Linked DNA regions of Homo sapiens: region 2 is linked to region 1. Evidence: promoter capture Hi-C in 16 types of primary human blood cells and fetal thymus (Javierre and others, 2016). All regions are on one chromosome and are shown on one strand. Each heading gives the region's core, a stretch centred on a gene start or on the middle of the fragment in contact. The rest is flanking DNA. Distances are from core to core; before and after follow the strand shown. Region 1 overlaps B4GALNT1 (beta-1,4-N-acetyl-galactosaminyltransferase 1). Region 2 holds the start of AGAP2-AS1 (AGAP2 antisense RNA 1).

Evidence for each region. Contacts are between HindIII fragments. The CHiCAGO score rates a contact against its expected background, and 5 or more counts as called.
Region 2: a contact is called between the fragment with the promoter of AGAP2-AS1 here and a fragment that was not itself captured in region 1, in 3 of 17 cell types (M1 macrophages, naive B cells and M2 macrophages). The highest score is 5.4, in M1 macrophages.

What each region holds. Positions count from the first base shown.
Region 1 is chr12:57,624,694-57,630,731 of GRCh38, forward strand. It overlaps B4GALNT1 (beta-1,4-N-acetyl-galactosaminyltransferase 1), which reads right to left. Exons shown (of 11, transcript NM_001478.5): 5 at 5,785-5,825; 6 at 5,459-5,639; 7 at 4,355-4,453; 8 at 4,020-4,210; 9 at 3,429-3,569; 10 at 2,925-3,165; 11 at 1-2,268. The coding sequence ends at 2,051. It also overlaps the pseudogene SLC26A10P. Among named protein-coding and RNA genes, the nearest start is that of B4GALNT1, 5.5 kb to the right of the region's middle. The HindIII fragment of the contact is 1,284 bases long and covers 2,587-3,870 here.
Region 2 is chr12:57,722,779-57,729,109 of GRCh38, forward strand. AGAP2-AS1 (AGAP2 antisense RNA 1) reads left to right here and starts at 3,462. Exons shown (of 2, transcript NR_027032.1): 1 at 3,462-3,600; 2 at 4,187-5,578. It overlaps AGAP2 (ArfGAP with GTPase domain, ankyrin repeat and PH domain 2), which reads right to left. Exons shown (of 19, transcript NM_001122772.3): 14 at 5,540-5,599; 15 at 5,159-5,307; 16 at 4,903-4,993; 17 at 4,582-4,804; 18 at 4,196-4,451; 19 at 2,419-4,016. The coding sequence ends at 3,774. RefSeq lists enhancers at 4,044-4,679, 4,680-5,313. The HindIII fragment of the contact is 18,142 bases long and covers 1-6,331 here.

The DNA of each region.
Region 1 (6,038 bases), core at 1,979-4,478:
CTGGAAATCTGGCCCCACCTTCTTCCCTAGGGTGTAGTGCCTGGCACTTGGACAGGCTGAGGGGACAGAGCTCTACAGACCACTCAGAGGAAGCCCCAGGGTGGGTGGGCTGCAGCCAAAGAAGGAAGGGAAGATTAGCCCCAGACATTTCTCTGATCCTTTGACCTCTTAGCTCCTCCAGGTCCCGGGGCTCTGCATCCTGAGCTATCCAACACCACTGTACTTTGGGACCCGTGGGCAGTTTCGCTGCAACCTGGAGTGGCACCTGGGGCTCGGAGAAGGAGAAAAGGTGAAGGAGCTTGGTTTAGGAGGGATGTGGATCCTCAGGGAGTGGGAGGCAGGTGGGTGTTCTGAGGGGGATCCTTGTGCTCAAGGGGTGCATGTTCATGCTGTGTTTCGGGAGTGGTGACTGCCCTTCTTTACTTATAGGAGACTTCAAAGCCAGATGGCCCAATGGTTGCAGGTGAGATGGGGTGACAAGAAGGAAGATTTGGGCATGTTGCATGGTGACACCTGGGTACTCCTGTCTTCTCCCATTCTAGTTGCTGAGCCTGTCAGGGTGGTGGTCCTAGACTTCAGTGGTGTCACCTTTGCAGATGCTGCTGGGGCCAGAGAAGTGGTGCAGGTGAGGGAGAGGGTAGGTTGAGGAGAAACCCCTTAGCATCTCACTCATACCCTCTGATCTGGGACTTAACCCCTTTGCCCCATCCCTGCAGCTGGCCAGCCGATGTCGAGATGCTAGGATCCGCCTCCTCCTGGCTCAGTGTAATGGTGAGATGTGTGGAGAAGAGCGGGGCCCAGTGCCTGGGCAATGACTGGACACCTGCGGTAGGGAAAAGGACCCGGTGTGGACTTAGGGTCTCAGAGTCTGACACCCTCCCCACATAGCCTTGGTGCAGGGGACACTGACCCGGGTAGGACTCCTGGACAGGGTGACTCCAGATCAGCTGTTTGTGAGTGTGCAGGATGCAGCTGCTTATGCCCTGGGGAGCCTGTTAAGGGGCAGTAGCACCAGGAGCGGGAGCCAGGAGGCACTGGGCTGCGGCAAGTGAGGCAGGGGTAAGTGGCTGGAGACCCAGGGAGAGGGGTTTGGGAAAGGGTCTGAGGAAGATCAAGAAGAAAAGGGTGGGGACGGAATGAATAGTAGATTGAAGACCAAATCAGGGAGCCCGGGCTGAGCTATGGGTGAGGAACTGAAGAACTCAGATCCCTAAGTAGGTGGGGTACCCCTGAGAGGACTGCCACATTTCATTAAGGAAGAGGGGTGCCTAATCTATTCCTGACATGTCTCCTCTCTTCTCCAGGAGCTCACTGACCCAAAGATTTGCACCGTGTGGGTCTGACCTCATCATGTGGAGTGCAGAGGGCCCTGATGACATGTGTGTGATGAGGACCATGACCCTTGAACCCCCTTACCTAACGTAACTAATAAAATGAAGCTGAGAGCTTTGGAATCCATGAAGTGAGTCTAGGTGTTTGCACAGGGACTCTGGTGCCCCTTCTTTTGTGCCCACAGCATTGCAGAGACACAACTAAGAATGGCTTTCACCAACCACCAGCCCTCACCCCAGCCCCAGAGCCACAAGTTCTCTCTGTGGGGGTGGGGCTGGAGCAGGTACACAGAGTACTGGATCTGAAGATGCAGATGAGGGGCACAGTCTTGGGATTATGTGTTGGGGAACTTCCCCACCCCCTCGGTCCCAAGATGAGAGGACAGTGTTTCCACCTTAGGTTCTTAGAGTCCCTCTGGGCTCTTTGGCACTTGGAAAGTGATCCCCCCATTTCCTGCCCCATGAGAATGGGCAGGGGGAGGACTTGGCACTGGCTGTGGGAGAGGTTATGGCTCCACCAGGCCTCTGGGCACTGGAAAAAGGAGGGGTGTCACCAGGACAACCCCTACTGGGCATCAGGTTCTGAAAAGGAAGAGTGAGGAACTAGAGGCTCAGGGACAGCCAGTAGAGTGCTCACAGGGTGGTGGGGTTTGTTGGAAATTCCTGGCAGGGACAAGGAGGCAGGCCCAGCCTGACAGTCAGAAATCCCCAGCGGGCCATCACTGGGAGGTCATGCACTGCAGCCGGTGTTTGAAGAAGAGCAGCCGGTGTTTGGCCATCTGGCTCTCGTCCAGTGATCCTGGGTAACGGTACCGGGCGTAAGTCTCTGCTCCGGCATCCCTTGATGTCCAAGGCAGCTTCAGTTTGGATGCATGATCCACCACGACGTCGGAGCAGGAGCCAACCCGAAGGGAACCAAGCCCATCCAAGAAGAATTCTGGGGGTGGAGGGGAGTACACAGTGAGGGATCCTGAGGGTGCAGAAGGCCGACTGGTAAGGGAGAACTCTCAAATTTAGGGTGTGGAAAGTGTGTGTGCAAAGGCTTGTTTCTAAGGACCCTGAGCATGTAAATCAACTCCCTGGGTCTCAGTCTTACTCTTGTGTAAATGGAGTCAATATACTTGTGCTTTGAAAATCGAAAAACCTACCCCTACTCCCAGAGGTTAAATAAACGCCAGATGGGTTGCACCGACTGTGGTCTGAACTAGGGGAAGCCCTGGGAGTAGAGCAGGGGTGGCGGGAACAGTGATGGGGAAGCTTATGGGGGCCCAGCGGCTGTGCTGGGAATGGAGATTCAACATGGCACATGTATACACATGTAACAAACCTGCACGTTGTGCACATGTACCCTAGAACTTAAAGTATAACAAAAAATATATATATTTATAAAAAAAAAAAAAGAGTATGCGGGGCTGGGAGAGGGTGGGAGCTGTCTCTCGCCCAGGTGCAGGTCTTGGTAAATCACTGCAGAACTGTTCTGGGGTTCCCGCTGGCGGCTGGGCGCGGGTGCAGCCTAGGAGGAGAGGCGCGTGACCGTGCGCCAGCTCCCCGTGGGGCTCCTGCCAGGGTCGACCGGGAGGGGGTGCCACTCACCCAGATGAGCCACGCGGCTGAGGCGGGGGTCGAAACCGACCTCGCGCACCTTGTCAGTCCGCGCCAGGAAGAAGTTAACCACGCCGTCGGTGACCACGCAGCCTGGGAAGCCGACGAGCTCGTGGTGGAAGCCGCGCCTTTGCCGGAGGCAGTTCCCGAGGCCTGGGGCGCCGGGCTCCACGCTCAGCAGCTGCCGATAAGTGGTGGCAAAGCCGGAGATCTCGCGCACCGCGCCCCCCACCTGCAGGGAGAGGGAGGTTGCCTCCAGGCGGGCCTGGGATAGGGGACCCGAAGGGGTCAAGGTCTGCGCTCCGGTGCCTTCGGGGGTACCCCTGCCCCATCCTCTTCCGCTTCACCCCTGCAGGACCCAGACAGTTCCCAGGCCCCACTTCGTGGTTCTCTCTTTGTCCTAGGGCTGGCCGTTCCTGGCCGCAGCGCCCCCGCTGTGGCCTTAGCCTGTTCAAGGCCCTTCTCCACCCCCACATCCTGCAGCCCCTGCCCTACCAGGTCCAGCGGCGTCCGCTCCAGCACGTCCACAAGCCTCTCCAGCCGCGTCCGCGCCGTGAAGACGAAGTCGTCGTCCACCCACAGCACGTACTTGGTGGTTACTTGAGACACGGCCAGGTTCCGGCCTGCGAACCAGCCCTGGCAGAAAGGTGTGTGTGGTTGGGGAGGCTGCAGAAATAGGACATGGCCCTCTGCCACCTTTCTTTCTCTCCCCCGACCCTTCTCAGCTTGTATTCTTCTCCAGACTTTTGAGTGCTTTCGAAAGGCCAGGAGCTAGGTAAAAGAAATGCAGATCCCCACAGAGGTTCCAAGTCAGTGGTCTTAGAATGCGTTTAATTTCCGTGTGCATTTATTTATTCATTCATCAGCTATTTTATTGAATGCCATTAGGCACTAAGCACCATTCTAAGAATTCAGAGAGAATTTCCTGCTCCCACGAAGCTTACATTCCAGGAATCCTCATGCTTAACAGGCACCCCATGATTCTGAGGCAGGTGGTCCTCGAATCACTACCCTGGAGGCTGCAGATTGAGGGCACACCCCCTGCGGGAGTCCTCTGGCCTGCCGTTCAGCCTGCTAGCTGCACACCTTGCCGAAGGGCATGAGATAGTGTTCCACGTAGGGGCCACTAACGCGCTCTGGCTTGTCGCTGTCGTCAGCGATGACCACGGTAACCGTTGGGTAGAAGCGGCGGATACTGGTGATGAGAGCCCGTAGCCGATCATAACGGAGGAAGGTCTTGGTGGCAATCGTGACTAGAGCGCTGATGTTGTACTGGGCTGAGATTGGGGGCACAGGGTTGGGTGCAGACAAGGAGGGTTGGGAGAGGGGAACAGGTAGATATCCCCTCCCAGGACTGCCCTCTCCCAACTTGCTCCCCACCAAGGCTGGTTCTAATATGTCCCTGCCCCTACCAGCCTCACCTCCCTGGGGTAGAGACCCAGGTGGGTACAGCCGAGGGTTGGGCGGGTGTCTTATGCGGATAGTGAAAGCAGCCTCATGTCCCTCGGTGGAGAACCGGACTGGGAAGAAAGGACATGGCATTTGACCCTGAAGGGTGGGATAACATTCTGTTTTCAGCCAATCAATATTTAAGTGCCTACTCTGTGTCCCACCTTTCTAGGCCTTGGTGGACAAGAACAGAAGGTTCTTACCTTTATGGAACTTACATTCTAATGGGTAGGAGAAAAAACAACAAAGAAAATTTTAAGTAAAAGCTAATCTTTATTGAGCACTTACTATGTGCCAGACCCGTTAAAAAATTACCTTAAATATATGCACTCATTTTATCCCCATGATAGCCCTATTAAGTAGATTCCTACAACAGAAAAAAAAGCTGAGACACAGAAAAGTAACTTGCCACATTTACACAACTATTAAGCAACAAAACTGATAGCAACCTAGTCAGTCTGGTGCCAGGCTAAGTAAATTAAAAAATTCAGATACTGGTAAGTATTGAGTGGAAAATAAGACAAACAAGTAATGTGATAGTGAAGAGGAGGCATTTGAACTGAGATCTAAATGACAAGAAGAAGCCAGTCTGCAAAAATCTGGGGAAGAGCATTCCAGGCTGAGAAAATAGAAAGTGCAAAGGCCCTAAGGTGGAAGCAAACTTAGTGCAACAAACCAGCTTTGGGGAGAAGCAAAGAGGGCTTTTAGGCCTCTTTTGCTGGAAGAGAAATGGGATCTCAGGAAAGTAAAGACCTTTGCCCTCTAGTAAGGGGTGGGTTGGGAATATAGTCTTCTAACTCCTTAGACAAGTCTCTTCCTGGGGCCCCCCACAGTTGGCCTAAAGGGGAGACACACCCAAGGCTCGGGTTTCCCTCTGGCCTGCTCCAGCCCCAGATGAACAAAGGCCCCCTTTCTCCCTCTGGCCCTGCTGGTCCAGTTGAAGCACCCATTGTGTGGCTGGACAGCTCTGGCCATAGCCCAGATGCCTCCCATGCCCTCTGCCATTTGCCCACTCCAGCCTTTCTGGTTCTTCTCTGTTTGCCCAGCCTGCCCGTCTCTCCACCCAGGCCTTGCACCTGTGTCTGCTGTGTTGGTCTGGTAGCTTCGGCTGCTGTAAGTGACCAGTTGTAGTTGCCTGTTGAGTTGGTCCAGCCCTGGGCTGACAAGGGTGAGATCTGCCTGACCCTCTCCAGTGAGAGTAACTCCAGTCACTTCCCCTGCCACGTCCCAGGTGCCTAGGGAGGCAGTCAGGTTCACCTAGGAGGGGATTGGAGAGTGCAGGGTTAGGCCCCAGACCCACTTCTTGCCTCCCTGATTCGCCCATCCTTCCCTTAGTAGCCCTGCCTCCCTCCCAGCATTCTTGATGCCTACTTGGCCTCCTTGCCTTCTTGTTTTCTCTCACCTGGTATACCTCCTGACCAGAAGCTGCCTGAAGGCTCAGCCCTAGGAGAAAGGAGTGGGGGGATCAGAATCACATAGGCAGCCCTGAATTCTTTCTCATTTTCTCTCCCTGCTGTCACCACACACAATAGAGAACTTTCCACCTATTCTTCTTATTGAGGCCTCAGCAGGGCACACTGTATAACATAGCCTACAGTGACTGATTTTTGAGCCCGTCCCGTCAAAGCTTGCCCTATGGCCTGCCCTGACCACCAC
Region 2 (6,331 bases), core at 2,212-4,711, 98 kb after region 1:
AGCTCTTGCTGAACGTGGACTAGTGCTTACTGTGCATGCTATGCTTACGTTGTTTTGTTTTGAAGTGTAAATAGGTAGACTCAGAAAACCCTGCTTCCTCTGGTCCATCTGCGCCCCCTGAGGGAGGGATGCTCCAGCTGGACAAGAGCTTAGACACTGCCTTGAGGGCAGCAGTAGTCAGAATGCAGCTCCCAGACCGCACCCCTCATCTCCCACCAGCGGACCCTTGAACAAGTCACTTAACTTTCTAAATGCTGTTTCCTCATTGGTAAATTGTGGACAACAGTACTGGCTTTTTAAGATGGTTGCGAGGATTGAATGAGATAGAGTGTATGTCGTGCTTTTAGCACAGAACCTGGCCCCAAGTAAGTGCTCACTAGCTTTCTATTATAAGCCAACTCCTGAGTTCTGAAAAGACTGGGTTACTTGGAGGCAAGAGTCTCAGAAGGAGTCCCCAAAGCTGATCAGAAGCTCAGAATGGGAAGGGGCTGGGGCAGGAGGGCTGTGCTTTGATTTGCTGGGGATGGAGTCTCAGCATCACCAGAAAGCAGAGTTCTGGAAATCTCACTCTGTTAATCATTTTGTACTTTCAATCGAAATTCCTTTTTCCTTTCCTTTGGCTTTTGGCGGCAGCACTCCCATGGTGAAGGTCGGTCTGCCCCAGCTGTGCTAAGACAAACAAAAGGAGGGGAGCAGGGTGTGGCAGATGGCAGCCAGCAGGGCTGCAGGGAGGGCTGGCGGATGGCAATAGGGCATCCTGCATGGCAGGGCATCCAAGCAAGGCAGCCCAGGGTGAGCTGTGAAGGGGGCATGGGCACAAAGGGGCAGCAGCTCTCCTTCACCCACCCAGGGAGTCCCCTTCTGGGCTCCTATTTTGTCATAACCTGGAGGGCTTGATATTTTGTCATTCCATCCACTACCACCCTTTACATCTCCCCCGCAAGACCAAAGACACTCCCCATTAAGACAAGAGGCAAGTGGATTACTTGGTGTTGGGATTTGTTGTGAGGTTTGCTGACACCTTGACCATTTTTCACTGGCTGGAAATGAAAGGAACTTCCCACTTGCTCTTTGAAGGCAATTTCATTCTCTCCAGGGTCCTTATTTCCTTCCCATATTCTCTCACACTCCCAAACTTCTGAAGAAGGGAGCAAACTTTGGCCACGAGGAAGGAGTGGAGCTGAAATAAGAGAGTCCAGGGTCTTGGAGGTGAAGGGGGAACGGCCAGGTCCTCTAGTCCAATCTTCTTTGCTACCTCCCCCCTCTTGTCGCTTTGCCCAGACCACACACCTGCCTCTGTACTTGTCACTGCACCTGCACTGTTGAATCCACCTTTCCTGGGTCACGCCGCTGTGCTGGGTGGTCACAGCCTAGGACCCTGTAGAGCCGCAGCCTCCATGTGAACTGGATTCAGGTCTGGTGCTGTGTCCTCAGTTCAGTGGCACACTTGCAGCTGAACCTCTTGGGGCTGGTGGGCACCAAGGGTCAGAAGCAATTCTACCCAAAGATGCTGGTGCTACCAACTAACTCCTCAAGGTAGATAACAACATATGGCTGTGCCCAACCTGCACTGGCTGCTGACCCAACCCTACCCTGTCCAGCCCCTCTACCTGAGTAAACACTTTCAGCTGCCCTCGAGAAATGGTAGGATTGGCTATGTGCTGAGCCTAGTGGCACTGCAGCTCATGGAGGCAGCACCGGCTTCAGGCCGCTGTGGCCTTGGTGGTCCCTTTGATGGCACGGAGGTGGATAAATGCCTGCATCAGCTGACACTGAGTTTGTGGACACCAGGGACCTCTGCAGCTAGCTGGGAAATCTTTCCCAGGAGGTCTCCCACCCCTTCCCTCTGGAACACCCCCTGACGAGGCCAGGGGAGGAACCCCTACTCTATGTTCTACTCTGGTACCTAGTGCTCACGGTGAGCAGGCTGGCTCGGGGCAGCCCTCCTCAGAGCTGGAGCGCCTTTCAGGTGCCCTCTGAACAGATACTGTTCAGAATACAGATAAACAGATGCCACCAAGGTCCCCTAGCTGTGCAGTGGAGGGGCAGGTTTCAAAATCAGATCTGTCTCCAAAGTTCCTGCTCTTAAACAAAGCTGTCCCATCTTCCCACCCCTCTCCATGGGCCTGTCCTCTCCTCTAAGTACCATATCCCAACTCTCCCAGGACTGGCATCATCTTAAGAGTCAGTGCCTTCTCTGTTCCCAGGGTCCCCACTGACTCCAACCTGCCCACGTCCTCCACTACATGAACCCAGAACTGTTGTACATGATGGAACCACCTCCATGCCCATGGGTACTGTCCTGCCACCAGCCCCAGTGGGAGGCACCTCTGCCTGTCCCTGTCCAACCCCAGTACCCCATCTTGACCAAGGCCATGCCCTGACCTGCCTCCAAGAACAGACCAGCAGCTCACCCCCTAGACAAAATCACTTCCTCTTTAATTGCTGTTGAAGAAGATTCACACCACTGCCTCCAAGGAGATGGGGGGGCATTTCCCCCTTGCCCCCACCTCTCTCCCCTCCCCAATTACCTGGTCCTTTGCAAACTATTTTAGCCAGAAAAAAAAAAAAAAAAAAAGACCGGAAACCACTGACACAGACAGCCCAAGGGCTGGGTTGGCTGAGGGAGGCAGGGCTGGGCCAGGTAAGTCCGCCCTATCACCCAGTTTGTGGGGAAGGGGCAGGGGGCCTGGAAACCCTCCCAGCCACCTCGAATCCTCTCAGCCCTGGCTGGGAGAGGTCACGGGGGTGAGGAATGGCTCTGGAGCTGCTCCAGTGGGAGGGAGGGGCTGGACAGAAAGAATAATGGGGGAGGGGTCCCACTGTAGGGGTGCCCCCTACCCCAGATCACCACGGGCGCTGCACAGTCACAGGTACGCAGTCACGGTCACAGACACAACCCGAGAGCACCCCCACCCCAACCCACCCCCTGCCCACCCTGGGCTTCCCCTACCCCAAAACGCCCTCCCCACGCCCCTGCCCGCCCCCATCCCCATGTTGGGGAACAAAGCAATAAATTACAAGGCCCCCGCAGCCCTCTTAGCCCGCTCCTGCTCCATCCCTTCTCCCTCCCAAGATAGTAGTGGGAGGGACCCAGGCTCTTGGTTCCCCCCGGACTCTTTAGCTTCCACCCATGGGTAGGTGTAGGGGACGTCCTGGTTTCCACTACTCACGGTCCCTTTCACGGAAAGGGTTGGGAACCCCCACCCCCATGAGCAGCAGGGGTCCTGCCCCTCGCTGCCCTTGCCCCCTTCACTGGGCAGTGAGATGAGCATGGAAGGGGTAGGGTTTCCGTATTGGCCCCAAGTCCCGGGGCTAGCCCTCCCATGTACTAAACCCTCCCTCTGGCGTGGCGTCGCCCCAGGAGCCAGCCTGGGTATGGGCTCCCGCCCTGGGATTGTTGAGCTCGGGCAGGACCGGGTCTTCTTTCCGCCCCTAGGGGGCACAAGCGGGCATGTCCAAGCGCCTAGGAGCCCGTACCGCTGGGGACCTCCCCTTCCGCGAACCCCGAGCGGGTAGACCCAGAGCAATCCGAGTGTGGAAACAATGGAGAGGGGGCGTGTTGAGCTGGGGTCTCCATGCCTCGTTGGGGAGAGGGAGGTGAGTTTGTGTCTTCTGGAAGGCGTGGGGGCTGTGCCCTCGTGGGGGTAGGAAGTGCTCCCGTGGGGCGGGGTGCGGATCGGAGAGGTGAGTGGGTGCGTCTGTCCAGCGGTCCGCCCGGTGTGGTCGTGCCCGGCCCGCGTGGGGATGGGGGTGTCTCTCCCGCTGGGCAACTATACCAGCGCAACCGGGGCGTCGGCGCGGCCCACGCTAGCGGCGCTGCTCCGGCGGCGGGGGCTGGGCGTGGCGGTGATGCTGGGCGTGGTGGCCGCGCTGGGCGTGGTGGCCGCGCTGCCGCCCTCACCCGGGCAGCCGTGCTGGAGAAGGATGTCGGCGCACAGCTGGCTTCCAGCCTGGCGGGCGTAGAACAGCGCCGTGCGGCCCTGGGCGTCACGGGCCGCCACGTCCGCGCCGTACTAGAGGGCGGAAACGGCCGCGTGACCGCGCGTCCCCAGGGCGCCCACACCCGGCGCCGCCTCCCCCACATGGCCAAGCCTACTTCCGGGGTCCCTCTGGGAATTTCGGGCTTTCCCGCGCCAGGCGTTTTCCGAGATGAAGCCTCAAAGACCCCCTTTCCTCCCCCCAGCTCACGTACCCACAGCAGCAGTTGCGTGATGACGACGTGGGCGAGCTCGGCCGCCAGGTGGAGTGGGGAGCGCAGCTGTGGGTCCTCTACGCTGGTGTCGAGCGGCCCGTGTCGCGCATGGGCCAAAAGCAGGAGAACGGTAGCCACGTCCTGGGCCTGCACGGCGGCCCACAGCTGGCGGCCCAGCGGCTCCTCCGAGGTGCTCAGCGGCGCCAGGAACAGTAGCTGCTCGTACTTGGCGCGAATCCACGACTCGCGCTCCTCCCTGCAAGACCAGGGATCAACGGAAAAGGCTCTAGGGACCCCCAGCCAGGACTTCTGCCCCTACCCACGGGACCGTCTCAGGTTCGCACACCCTCAGCAACCCTCCCCCCGCTCTGTTCCCTCACGCTTACCGCGAAGAGTCCCGCGAGGGCTTGGCACGGCCTCGCGTGTCGCTTTCCCACACGCGGTTGGCCGTGTCGTTGCCAATAGCCGTCAGCACCAGGGTCAGCTCCCGTGGCCAGTCGTCCAAGTCCAGCGAGCGAACGCGGGACAGGTGTGTGCCCAGGTTGCGGTGGATGCCAGAACACTCGATGCAGATGAGGGCGCCCAGGTTCAAGCTGGCCCACGTGGGGTCTGCGGAAGGAGCGTAGAGGTCGGCTCCCAGCCGGGCAGCACAGGCACCCCGGCATTCACTACACTCCCTAGCCCCTCCGCTGCCTCCTGGCACTCACTGGGGGCCCCGCAGTCCACGCAGATTGAATTCCCCTTGGCGTTCCGGATCGCCTGGATGGCCACGGCCTCGCTTTGGCTGTCTGTGCGCAGCTGCAGAGAGGGTTTGGGTTGGCACTGACTCTGCCTCCAAGCCCCACCTCCTTCTCAGACACCTCTGCTCTCCTCTCACACGACTTCGGCCGTGTCGTTGCCAATGGCCGTCAGCACCAGGGTCAGTTCCTGCGGCCAGTCCTCCACTCCACCTCAAACTCTTACCTTGACCTTGCTGCTCTCACAGCATTGCAGACTGGCTAGGATCTGACTCTCGATGGCCTGGACCCAGGCATCCCGCTCCTCAAAACTGGCTGCCTCAAAGTGCCACGTCTGACCCGTGCTGGACACGATCAGGAACTCAAAGTTTTCCTCTGAGTGGGGGATGGGATGGGGTCATTAAGGGACAGAGTTCAAGCAGGGGCTGCCTTTCCCAAGACCGTCCTCCCTGATGTCCATCCCGAGCCCCTGGGAGTGGGGCAGTGGGGGTAGGGAAAGCAGAGGGTGGGGGGCAGCAGGAAGCCCGAGCACATGCAGGGGAAGGCGGGGGCACCCCCACCCTTCTGCACCCCAGCTGAGCGCCCCTCCCGGCTCCCCACTTGTTACCTGCTTTATAAATATTTCTTAAACTACCAAAGGATTTTAGTTTCCACATTTTGCGCTTGGCTGGTTTCCCGAAGCGAAGGAGATAGAGATAGAATGGAGAGCAGAACAGAGAAAGAGAGACCAAGAAAGAAGGAGAAAAAGACAGGTAGATGGAGAGATGGAGAGAGATAGTGACAGAGTGCCAGAGACAAAGCAGGACAGACAGATGGGGAGAGAAAGCAGAACTAAAGTCAGTGGCCCCGGAGCAGAGTGGAACAGAAGCCAAGAGCCATGAGAGTAGGCAGATCTGGAACCTGGGTCTGAGCACCCGGCAGAGAGCAGGGGCAGCAGGGATGGGTTATCAAGACCAGCGAGGAGCTGGACCTCTGGGAGAAGAAGGGAGGGTCAGGATCTGAGTGAACACGGGGGAAGGGGACAGAAGCTGGGGCGCAGGGCTGAGATGAGAGGGCCCTGGGGCTGGTGGCGGTGGGGGTGCGGGGAATCACTGAGGGACAAGAATGGGGATCACTATGGTCAAGGGCTGTTGGGGAGCACTTGGCAATAGAAAGTTATCGGGAGAAGGCCGGGCACGGTGACTCATGCCTGTAATCCCCACCGCCTGTAATCCCAGCACTTTGGGAGGCCGAGGCGGGCAGATCACGAGGTCAGGAGATCAAGACCATCCTGGCTAACACAGTGAAACCCAGTCTCTACTAAAAAATACAAAAAATTAGCCGGGCATGGTGGCAAGTGCCTGTAGTCCCAGCTACTTGGAAGGCTGAGGCAGGAGAATGGTGTGAACCCGGGAGGCAG